Linked DNA regions of Homo sapiens: regions 1 and 3 are each linked to region 2. Evidence: promoter capture Hi-C in 16 types of primary human blood cells and fetal thymus (Javierre and others, 2016). All regions are on one chromosome and are shown on one strand. The core of a region is centred on a gene start or on the middle of the fragment in contact, and the rest is flanking DNA. Distances in the headings are between cores, read along the strand shown. Region 1 holds the start of ARHGEF33 (Rho guanine nucleotide exchange factor 33). Region 2 holds the start of ATL2 (atlastin GTPase 2). Region 3 has its middle 46 kb from the start of QPCT.

Region 1 (4,243 bases), core at 1,271-3,770, 510 kb after region 2:
TTATAAGTGAGAACATGCATTGTTTGGTGGGATGGCTATATCAAAAAAAAAAAACAGACAATACAAAGATTGGCAATGATGTGGGGAAATTGGAGGCCTCACACATTTCTGGTGGGAATATAAAATGGTGCAGCTGCTGTGGAATACATTTCCTCAAAATATTAGACATAGAGTTACTACGTGACTCAGCAGTTCCTAGGTATGTACGCAAGGGAATTGACTTGCACACGAATGTTCATAGCAACATTATTCATTGCTATAGTCTGAATGTGTCCTTCCAAAATTCATGTTTAAACCTAATTTCCTCACGACTGTAATCCCAATACTTTGGGAGGCCAAGGTGGGTGCATCATTTAAGGTCAGGAGTTTGAGACCAGCCTGGCCAACATGGTGAAACCTCCTCTCCACTAAAAATACAAAAATTAGCCAGGCGTGGTGGTGTGTGCCTGTAATCCCAGCTACTCGGGAGGCTGAGGCACAAGAATTGCTTGAAACTGGGAGGTGGAGTCTGCAGTGAGCCAAGATGGCGCCACTGCACTCCAGCAGGGGCAACAGAGTGAGACTCTGTCTAAAAACAACAACAACAACAACAAAAACCTAATCTCTACTGTGGTAGTATTAAGAGTTGAGGCCTTTAGGAGGTGATTAGGTTATAAGGACAGAGCCCTCATGGATGGGATTAGTGCCCTTATAAAAGAGATGTGAAGGAGATTGCTTGCTTCTTCTGTCACAAGAGAATGATGCAAGAAGGTGCCATCTTTGAAGAAGAGAGCAAGTCCTTACCAGACACTAAATCTGCTAGTGCCTTGATCTTGGACTTAACAGCCTCCAGAACTGTGAGCAATACATTTCTGTTGTTTAAAATTACCCTGTCTAAGGTATTTTCTTATAGCAGTTCAAATGGACTAAGACATGTATAATAGCCCCAACTGGAAACAATCCAAATGTCCATCAACTAATGAATGTGTAAACAAAATGTCCACATAATGGAATATTATTCAGCCATAAAAAATGAAGTACTGATACTACAACATGGATGAACTTCAGAAACATTGTACTGGCCAGGCAGGTGGCTCATCCTGTAATCCCAGCACTTTGGGATGCCAAGGTGTGTGGATCGCTTGCCAGGAGTTTGAGACCAGGCTGGGCAGCATGGCAAAATCCCATCTCTACAAAAAATACAAAAATTAGCCAGGTGTGGTGGCACATGCCTATAGTCCCAGCTACTTGGGAGGACTGCTTGAGCCCAGGAGGCAGAGGTTGCAGTGAACCAAGATCATGCCACTGCACTCCAGGATGGGTGACAGAGCAAAACTTCATCTCAAAAACAACAAACAAACAAACATTGTACTAAGTGAAAGGAACCAGTCACAAACGGCCACATATTATATGATTCCATTTATGTGAAATGCTCTGAATAGGCAAATCCTTAGGGACAGAAAATAGATTAGTGGTTGCCAGGGGAGGAAGAAATTGGGAGGCATGAGGTTTCTAGAATTAGACAGTGGTGATGGTTGCACAGTCTTGAAAATGTACTAAAAACCACTGAATTGTTCATTTAACAGGGACAAATTTTATGTATGATGTGTAAATTATGTCTCAATTTCTTAAAAAGTAGATCTGTGTGTTGTCATATATTCTATGTCCAGAAAACTTCTTTACTTTTTACATAAGATAATTTAAAAATTACCAGAGCAGTATATGTCAACTACATTTAAAAAATTACAATAAAGACCTGAATGTTTTTGCTGAAACTCTATATTCTAAAACTGACAAAAAATAGTGTACACAATAGATAACTTCTTTGTCATATTTCTCTATTCAAAATCTTGTGAATATTTGTATTTCTCAATATGTTATTGCCAAAAGATGTATATTTTTATTTTTTGCTGTACTGGCACAAATTTGGGTTACAATGTCTTCTAAAATGTTAAAATAAAAATGGCATTTTTGTTAGTTTCTCATAATAATAGCTTTATGGCTAATTTTGAAAGACCCTATTTGTAAGTTTTCAAAGACACATTTTAAGAATTGGACATTTTTGTATATGTTGCTAAACATTAGCTGGCATGGCTTTAGAATTAAATATTATTATTATATGGAAATTCATGAAGAGACAAATACTGGACAAGTTAAGATAAGGTGAGAAGATGTTTTCAGGGACCAGGACATATAATTTAAATTCAAAAACTTCTGGAAAATATAGAAAAGTATCTGCTTTGCTGCAAAATAAATTTTCCCTAATTTTTTTCAATTTATTTAAGGCAGCAAGATATATATTTTACTCTTAAAATATTTAACTTGTATTGCTATGTTAATAACTTTTCAAAGTACAACTTTTCAATTTTCTAGTATACCAAAGATATTCCTCCTAAATGGGTTTCTTCCTTTTTACTCATTGAAACTAAATGCAGTTCAGTTATTTGATTAGTTGATGCTAGAATTTGACCTGGAGCTTATATAATTAGAAGAGACACTAGTTTTCCTCATTTAAAAGCCTGGTTAGCATACTACGGTCTCGTTTCAGGGGAAGTCAAGCCTCTCTACTGCTTCTTTTTATAACCTTTAAGTTAATTCAGAACCCAGATAAGCCTTGATCTGAGGATGATATAACCACCGCAGGCAACATGGGGTAAGTATGCGCTTTTATATGCTTTAAGGGGCACTGAAAGGGGAAACAATTTTATAAGAGATGAAAACCCATCAATCCTTACCACGTGGTGTACTAATTTAAATCCAATATATGCTAACATTTATTTGAGGTAGGCATTCAAAGAAATAACTTTTATTTAAGAGTTATAACAATTTGTAAAACATTTATTTCCTTGCTTAATTTTTATATTATGTCTTAACTGCGCTTTGCAGGTTATCGATAAACTGGAGACTGAAGTTGTTCTGCATATTAATAAATATAGTTGAAGATGAGTTAAATTTTGAGAGCAGTCTTAAAGAAAGGATGCTAGACAGCGTAAATCTGACATGGACATGCCTCTTTGGGATTAAGAATAATTAAAGAATGAAAAAGATTAGGGATGGAGGGAGATTGGTTTATTCCTTTCTAACACAGAAAAAGAATAGGGGAATCTTCAGCATTCACTCCCCTATGTACAGAACAAAAAACATATCCTGATTGAAAATGTGTACTGATTAATTACATGGGGGCTTTATTGGTGAAACCTAATTCTAAACACTTCATGGGGCTTTGGTGTGTAATGAGAAGAACTGAGTTTCACTTAAACATTGTCTTAAGTGAGAATAGCGTTCTATTATAATTAGTATTGGAATTATGTGAGTTTTTATATGCTGAAATAGTATTCTGAATATGTAGAAATCTCTATATCACCCTTTTATATTTTTAATAGCCCCTTTTAATACAAAATCATATTGCTGTAAATGGAATAGCTATTTCATTGAAGGCTACTTCTGAAGGATTCAACATAATGATCAGAAATGTATCCTAGAGAAAAAAGTTTTTGATGCACATTTATTCTAAACATTTTTCACAAACTGAATTAATTAATGTCTACATTTTTCATAACCATGGGCTCTGGAAATGCAATCTAAACTCATTTGAAAACTCAGAGGCTTTTGAAACAAGATGACCATACTATTGGTTTTTTTTTTTTTCTTTTTTCTTTTCTTTTTTTAGACAAGGTCTCACTTTGTCACCTGGGCTCAAGCAATCCTCCCACCTCAGCCCCCACAGGTAACTGAGACCACAGGTGCACACCACCACACCCGGCTAATTTTTGTATTTTTTGTAGAGATGGGGTTTCGTCATGTTGCTCAGGTTGGTCTTGAACTCCTGATCTCAAGCAGTCCTCCCACTTCAGCCTCCCAAAGTGCTGGGATTACAGGTGTGAGCCACCATGCTCGGCCTTATTGTTAACTTTTTCTTAATTCCCTTTATTTACCTTCCCTTTTCTCTGTGTATAAGGGTGTACTTCAACATAGCAGGCCAGTAATAAACTAAGTAATGTAGATACAAAGATCAACTGATCTTCCTCCTTCCCTTCCTCTCTCCTTTCCTCCCTTCCTCTCTCCCTCTTCCTTCCTTTCTTTTTCTTTAATGACAGCAGTTCTTAACCTTTTCGGTGTCAAGAATTGCTTTTAGAATCTTCAGAAACCAGTCCACCATTTCTGCAAAAAAAAAAGTAAAATCACACAAAATTTTGCATACAATTTCAGAAGATTTACAGGTGACCTGAAACCCTATTCCTGGGACCACAGGTTAAGACCCTTA
Region 2 (3,805 bases), core at 398-2,897:
TCAAAAAAAGGAAAGAAAGAAAGAGAAAGAAAGAAAAGAACACACACTTCTTCCCCTAGGGTCCAACCAAAAGAGCGAAATTAATCCATCCGCATTCCAAAACAATTAATTACTTAAGAAATCCAACCAGCACACATCTAAGGCGAAGCTGCTTCTTTGGTAGTTTTTTATTCTACAGAGTGCTACCACTGTACAAACAGTCAAGCGTTTTGGTTGGCAGACAATAATAAAATAAGCTTTATTTCCTTTTCTTCTTCCCTTAGCAAAACTCCAGTCTGTCATCACCTCTGACATGCGCCAAGAACTACCAGGAATGATGAAGTATATTTCAAATAAACTTTCCTATTAAAGTGAGTCCTTGTGGTTAACATCATACCAAAATGCTTTACATTTTATCCAGCAAAACCTTTACACACCGTAAAAAAAGAAATCTTAAGACACGAGCTCGTATCTGTATTTAATAATAAACTCTTATCTTGGCCGTACTTACCAAATCGTAGGCTTTTACTATTTATAAGCCTTTGAAAAAACTTTATGCCTTTCTTAAGTACCATCAAAATTTTCAATCAGGATTTCATGCGATCAATTCGCACCACAGTGAGAGATCAAACGCTAAACTCCTATAAATAGGGGTGTTATGAGTGAGAGGGATACACTGCGCTGCCAACGCAACTGCGTCTTCGAGGGGGCAGGGGCGCTCCTGGTACACGTACAGTAGGAGCTCACATTCAGCAAAACCAGGGAGCCAAGGATCAGGTGACTTCACACTACAGACACTTTCAGAGTGATCAGGCCTTACTATCGTCCAAGTGACTCGTAAACGGCTCATAACCCCAGTTTGACACGAAAATCTAGACTTGCACCCTAGCCACGCACAACCCGCGCGAATGGGTTCGGGAGCCGAGGAGCCCCGAAACGCGAGCCCGGGGACAGAGCCCTGGCCTGCGGACTGCGGTTCCCTCCAGGAAGGGTGTCTAAGGAGCTTTCGGACCCGGCAGCAAGGTGTCTGCTCCCCGCGCGACCTCCTCCTCCGCGGGGCCCATCATGCCCTGGCCACCCCTTCCTCCCTGTCCGCGTAAGGGACAGCGAACGCCCACCAGCTAACGGGTCGCCCCGCCGCGTCCGGAGCTCGCCGGACGGAGCGGAGCCGCAGCCGACCTCCCCGCGCCCCGGGCAGGCGGCCACGGCTCAAGGCCGCCCCCTAAGGTCGGGGCGGACACGGCGGCAGCCACGCGGCGGGCTGGCGGGCAGGGGGCCGGGCCGGTCGCAGACGCGCGCGCCACTGGTTCTCCCAGCAGCTACTGGAGCCGCGGCCCACGAGCCGCCCTTTCAGGCCGCGCGCTGCGGGAGCGCGGGGCGCGGCTGAGGCTAGGCCCGGCGGGCAGGCGCGGCGGCGGGAGGAGACCTGAACCAGCCGCGGACTCCGACCCCGCCGCCTGCGGCCGGTGCCCGCGAGCCCGAGCAGCGAGCGTCTCTCCCCATCAGGGCCCCGCGGCCTCTGCCTCGCTGGCCCGTACCTAGGGAGGTCGTGGACGAGACGTGGTTAACCGCGGCGCTTGGGTCGCTGGTCCGTCGCCGGCGCCACAGCCCCTGGTGCGGTTGCTGCCCTCGCGCTGCCTCGTCCCCCTCCGCCATCTTGTACCGATTTAAAATTAACTCCCCACTGACGTCAAACGCCGCCGCCGCTTTATCAACCTCCCGGGAGCCGGCGGGGTGGCCGGCGGGTCCTAGCGCCGCTCTCCGCCTGTATCTCCTCGCCCTCCGCCTGTATCTCCTCGCCCTCCGCCTGTATCTCCTCGCCCTCCCTCCGCCCCCGCCCCGCCCATCGCTCGCTCGCTCCGCCCTCGCCCTGCCCGCCTGCAGATCCGTCTCCCCGGCTCCAAGTTTCTGGTTGGACTGGGGCGGGGGTGTCCCTGCCGCCGCCGTCTCACACCCCCACCTCCCTGAGCTCAGCACCACACCCCCTTAGCGCTGGGCCAGGCTCTGCAAACGCAGAAGGGAGCTCCAGAGAACTAAGTCCCTCCCTCCCAATTCGCTTTACATCTCTAATCGTTGATTCGTGCGTCCTGCACGTGAGGTGGCTTTCGCACCCCTTCTCTCCTTTTCATCGCCCCCTCCTCATCACAGCCATTCCCCTCCTCTCTCCCCATCCACCCCCCAAGTTGTTGCCAGTGCCCTGCTTTTCCTCTTGATCTTTTCTTTCCTCACCCAAGTCCCTACTGTTGCTTCCCCTCCCCCCCACCATCCTAAGGTTTGTTTGCATTCGCTCCCCATCTACTTATGAGACCTTCCCCCATCTTCTCAACTGTGTATACCCTGGCCCTGTGCTCCTAGCACCTTGCAGAGGCATGCCAGAAAGCACTCTAATCGGAAAATGAATCGTGGCAGGTTCTTACCTAATTGTGATGAACCTTCTTCTGGGGATCCAGTGACATCCAGTAGAAAGTTCAGGTCACTTTTTAAATTACAAGTCAGCCCGTGGAGGCGTCTGTGAAACATGATCCCTTTGGATTTTTACCATACTGCCAGCTGCATTAGAAATTCCTCTTCTCCAGTAAAAACAGATGTCCGGGTGTACAAACAGCTGTTTTGTCCAGGTCTTTTCATAAGTCTAAAATTCACAGCATGCACAATCTCTAGAAAAGCACTGGTGTTATTAAAGCTTTCAAAATACCATTCTAGGTAGGGCATGGTGGCTCACGCCTCCCGGGTTCAAGCAATTCTCTGCCTCAGCCTCCGGAGTAGCTGGGATTACAGTCCCCCGCCACCACACCCTGCTAATTTTTGTATTTTTATAGACACGGGATTTCACCATCTTGGCCAGGCTGGTCTTGAGCTACTGACCTCGTGATCCACCCGCCTCAGCCTCCCAAAGTGCTGGGATTACAGGCGTGAGCCACTGCGCCCGGCCCATCCAAATATATTTCAACAGAATATGGAGTTTGTCATCATTGTCACATAAATCTAGGAGAATAACTATATACGTGTTCTTGGCAATATTCTTTGAGTTACTAAGATTCTAGTTCTGGGACTTGAACCACCTCCACAATCTAAAGTACAGTTACCCTTCCCCCTCGTTCATATTGATGGCAGGATCTTTATCAACTTGTTAAGTGATATTCCTCTTACGTCCTTGTGATATATGATTTGGAGAGCTCACTTTGTCAAGACATTTTCTGTTTTATCATTGGCCTGAAAAACGTAGTATTGAAAAGGAAGAAAAAGAAGAAGCAGAAGCAGAAGAAGGAGGAGGAGGAGGAGAAGAAGGGCAAAAAAATCTTCACGAGGATTGTTCTACAAAGATTTATTTACTGTCATTTACTCACTAAAAAACATTTGCTTAGGCACATAGAAAAAAGAAACCATTTACAAACAGCACAGCATAGGCCATTTGCTAAATTAAGGTTGATACAGTCAGTGACAACAAAAAGCTACCTGAATCCTTACCAAAGTGCAGTGTTCACCTAAGCCAAATCACCCTCTATGCTTAGTATAGGCAGTCCTTTGGAAGATATTGAATATCTTACATGTAATAAAAGACCTTATGGTTTCCCTCACTGTGCCTTCGATTTTAAGGACTTCAATTCTATCTACTAATCTAGGCTGCTACCCCATGTGTTTCGTGTTTTGCTTTGCTTTTCTCTTTTCTTTTCTTTTTTTTTTCCTTGCCTATGTTCTTCTCTTTTTGGTGTTCTGCCTATCTTGGCTCCCAAACCCACTCTCTCCCCCATCTGTGGTTACTATGCCTGAATCAAGAGAGGTCAAACGCTTATTTAAAAAAAAAAAAAAAAGGCTGGGTGTGGTG
Region 3 (3,910 bases), core at 167-2,666, 990 kb before region 2:
GGACATCCTTATCCTCCACATGGGATTCTCCTTTAGTCCCGATTTACATTGCTGTCTCTTTCTTGGCCTTCTCACAGAGGCTGTTCCTCACATCCTCTTATCCAGAATAGGTCCTTCCCTGTATATTTCTATCTCAGCACTCTACTCATTTCTTTCTTTTTTCTTATCACAACTTGTCATTACAATATTGTTTTACTATGGGTGGGGGGCAGCCTGTTTTCATGATCAAATTGTAGGTTTCATGAGGGCAAGGACTATGTCTATGTTTTTCATCATTGTATTCCCAGCAACTTGGAGATATTTGTGTGTGTCAGAGGTTTAATACATACTTGGTGATTAAACAAATATTCAAGAACTGATCCAGCTTCTATTTCTCTGGCTTCAGGACTTGCCTCAAATGTCCCTTTATCACAGGCCTTCTCCAACTACCCTATATAAAATGTAACAGTGTATCTCCTGGCTTTTACTCTTGATTGTGGTGAGAGATTTGGTATCCTTGGTCTGGGCCTTTTGTGTTCTCTAAGAACCTGGTTTGCCCTCTGCCTCTTGGCTCTACTGGCTGCCATGAGCATCTACACCTCCCAGCTCCAGCTCTCAGGGCCCCTGTCCTCATTCAAGGCCTGCCCTGCTTCATCCTGGAGGAGATGGGGCAAACTCAGATACAGAGAGCTTTAGCAACTTGTTCAAGTTTATACAATAATGAAGATTGGGCCAGAAGTCAGGTTTTGGGATTTGCACCCAGTCTCATGCCTTTTCACTCTATTATGCTAATCCTGTATCTCTGTTTCAAATCGAAGTGACTCATTTTGAGTTTTCAGATGAACACTCCAAGTATTATGGAGTACCTGGTTATTTGAAGTAAAAAAAAAAAACAAAAAACCAAGAATTGAAGCTTCTAGCTAGACAAACAAAGCTTGAAGCACCAGACAGCTATTGAAGACCAAATCTACCCACAGGGCTGGAATTAGGCACCGAGGGAACAGATGCAGGGAGAGATCCAAGCTCACAGCCAGGAGCCAGATGCTGGGTGTAAGCTGTCTGTGCCTGTCCTCCTTTCCCAAGGCCCGCCAAAGGGAGGCTCTGAGCTTCAGAGTGGGGATCTAGACTTCAGTTGCCAGTAGGTTCTGAAAGTGCTGCCCTCAGGGAAATGGTGACTTAGAAACAGAACTGCAACAAGTTTCAGTTGAACTCCAGGGAATTCCCTAGGTATGCCTCTTGCCTCCTCCTCATCTCTCTCCTTCAAAAGAAGGACATTTGAGGAAGTCCCAGGGAAGAGAGATGAGAAATATGGTTATGAAATAAAGAGAAATGAAGAACCACAGTATGGAGTACTTTTCTGCATTGGGTAGGATTTGTGGGTGAGACAGAGAATTGGGTGGAGGGCAGAAGGCCAGAAGGAGTAGGCAGAGGAAGGAGGGGGTGTTGAACCTCCTTCAGGCATCGAGCGAGAAACCTGACCTCGGAATAGTCACACTTGATCTCCTTTTGGCTTCTGTGTACCAGCAAAGCCTTTAGGTTTAGTCTGTTTCCTCTGTGGCAGAAAAGGAAGCCCAAGACAATTTGCATAGGCAGCTCTCAAGCAAAGCCTCCCTCAAAGAGTTTCTGACTCATCCCCATGACTTCCTCCCCCATCTGTCAACAGGGGAAACTCCAGGTGGGAGGTTACATTTCCTGCCTCCCTGTTATGGACTAGTTTCCTTCCTGGGAGGTGAGGCAGAAGTGGAGGGGACTTTCTCCCTCCTCATCATCCCATGCCTTCTCTCTTCTCCCGGTTCCTCTCTATCAAACTCTATGTTCCCATTTTGAGCTGAGAATAAGGAACAGCAGAGTTGATTAGAAACATTTTAAAATCAAGTGATTAAACTCTGATAATGGCAGAATTTCAAACATGAGTCAGTATGTAAATCCAATTGTAAAGATGAAGCTTTGAAGATATTTCTGTGTTCTCAGAACCTCAGAAGTTAATTCCTAGACATTGCTTCCTCCTAAGGGCAACTTCAGCACATGGTCCACAAGGATATAGGGCAGGATCCTCATAGAGGTAGTGGGCTACATGTCTCAAGTTGTAGGATGCTCTGGGTCCTCAAGTCTATCTATCCTCTTCCTCGAGTTCTGCACATCATCTTCTACATGCTGCTGGGCTCCTGAAAGCAGCACAACACCCTGACGGGGAGCTTGTTTGAGCATTCATTCTTTCTGTGTTTTGATAGTGTTAGGTAGGCCACCATCTGTGGGTTCTGTTTAGATCCACAGTTCTTCCTCTGGACATGGGATGTATCAAAGCAGGAAAGAGGCTGCCCATCTGAGCTTTTCATGATGTCGCGGCTGTGGCTCTGGCTGTTACCAGAGCTATACAGGAAACCCAGGGAGAGGGCTTGAAATGGTTGGGCATCAGGTATAAAGAAAAAAGCACTCAGAAGTATGGAATTTGTTTACATTGGTTCAGGGAACCAAAGAAGATTCGAGAATAGAATGTTCTGTCCTGTGTGCCCACTGAAATTAGAATTGTATGGGATTTTCCTCCAACACCCTGGTGGCTATTTTCCAGTGTCTTTTGCTGATTCCTCTTCATCTTCAGACTTGTCAAGTTTGAAAGGCTCTAAGACTCAGTTCTTGTTCCTCTTCATTTCTCCATCTCAGTCCATTGTTGACCTCATCCAGCTTCAAGTCTTTAAATACCATGTATATGTTGGCAACTCCTGGAGCTCTCAAATGTTTTCTAGACTTGTATGTACAACGGCCTACTGAACAGTTCTACTTGAAGGTCAGATTCAGCAAGTTCCCACTGAACTCCTGGTCTCCTCCCCACAAATCTGCTTCAGACATTGTTGGATGGCAGTAGCTCCAACCTTCCTGTAGCCCAAAACATAGGAGTCATTCTTTTTATTGAGACATAATCTCGCTCTGTTGCTCAGGCTGGAGTGCAGTGGTGCAATCACGGCTCACTGCAACCTCCGCTCCCTGGATTCAAGCAATTCTCCTGTCTCAGCCTCCCTAGTAGTTGGGATTACAGGGGTGTGCCACCAAGCCCGGCTAATTTTTGTATGCTTCGTAGAGACAGGGTTTTGCCATGTTGGCGAGGCTGGTATCGAACTTCTGACCTCAAGTGATCCACCCACCTCGGCCTCCCAAAGTCCTGGGATTATAGGTGTGAGCCACCATGCCTGGCCTTGGAGTCATTCTTGATTCTTCTATTTCACATCCCACACCCAGTCAGAAGGTAGCCTGGCCAGGTCTATCTTCCAAATACATCCAGAATCCAATCACCTTCTACCACCCCCATTGCTGCTGCACTGGGTCCAAGCCACCATTATCTCTTACCTTGATAACTTTAACAGCCTCTTATCAAGGCTTCCTGGTTCTACCCTTGCCCCCTTCAGTCTATTCTTCATGCAGCAGGAAGAGCGGTTCTTTAAGGAATTAGGTCCCGTCATGTCACTCCTCTACTCAAAGCCCTGCAATAATTCCTTATCTCATTCAGAATAAATGCCCTTACAGTGGTCTGATTGGTCCTCTGTGATCTGTCCTTGAGCACCATTCTGACTTCATCTTTGACTAGTCTCCTCCATTGCTCACTCTTCCTTAGCCACAGTGGCCTACTTGCTGTTTCTTGAACATGTTAGTCTTAATCCTACCTCAGGACCTTTGCACAGGCTGTTCTCTCTGCCTGGAATATTTTCTCCCCACATACCTGCATGGCTATTTTTTAAAAAAATATTATTCCATTCCTTGCTGAACTGTAATTTTTCAACGATGTCTTGCTTGATCCCTCCCCTCAGTTTAAAGTTTTAATCTTGAGATTTTTTACTCTGTTCTACTTATTTCTGTATCACCCTCTAACATATGGTAAAATTTACCTATTTAATATGTTTGCTTTTTGTCTGGGCTTGTTGGCTTATACCTGTCATCT

The links. The method cuts DNA at HindIII sites, captures the fragments that hold promoters and counts their contacts. A CHiCAGO score of 5 or more calls a contact.
Region 1: the fragment with the promoter of ARHGEF33 here is called in contact with the fragment with the promoter of ATL2 in region 2 in 7 of 17 cell types (total B cells, M2 macrophages, activated CD4 T cells and 4 more); the score reaches 11.9 in total B cells.
Region 3: a contact is called between a fragment that was not itself captured here and the fragment with the promoter of ATL2 in region 2, in 1 of 17 cell types (monocytes). The highest score is 5.1, in monocytes.

What each region holds. Positions count from the first base shown.
Region 1 is chr2:38,887,355-38,891,597 of GRCh38, forward strand. ARHGEF33 (Rho guanine nucleotide exchange factor 33) reads left to right here and starts at 2,521. Exons shown (of 18, transcript NM_001145451.5): 1 at 2,521-2,632. The HindIII fragment of the contact is 7,511 bases long and covers 1-4,243 here.
Region 2 is chr2:38,375,626-38,379,430 of GRCh38, forward strand. It overlaps ATL2 (atlastin GTPase 2), which reads right to left and starts at 1,648. Exons shown (of 13, transcript NM_001135673.4): 1 at 1,518-1,648. The coding sequence starts at 1,635. RefSeq lists enhancers at 740-1,241, 1,242-1,741, 1,568-1,817 and silencers at 1,068-1,567, 1,788-1,947, 2,018-2,067. The HindIII fragment of the contact is 2,426 bases long and covers 235-2,660 here.
Region 3 is chr2:37,389,017-37,392,926 of GRCh38, forward strand. No RefSeq gene overlaps it. Among named protein-coding and RNA genes, the nearest start is that of QPCT, 46 kb to the left of the region's middle. RefSeq lists an enhancer at 1,088-1,277. The HindIII fragment of the contact is 1,011 bases long and covers 912-1,922 here.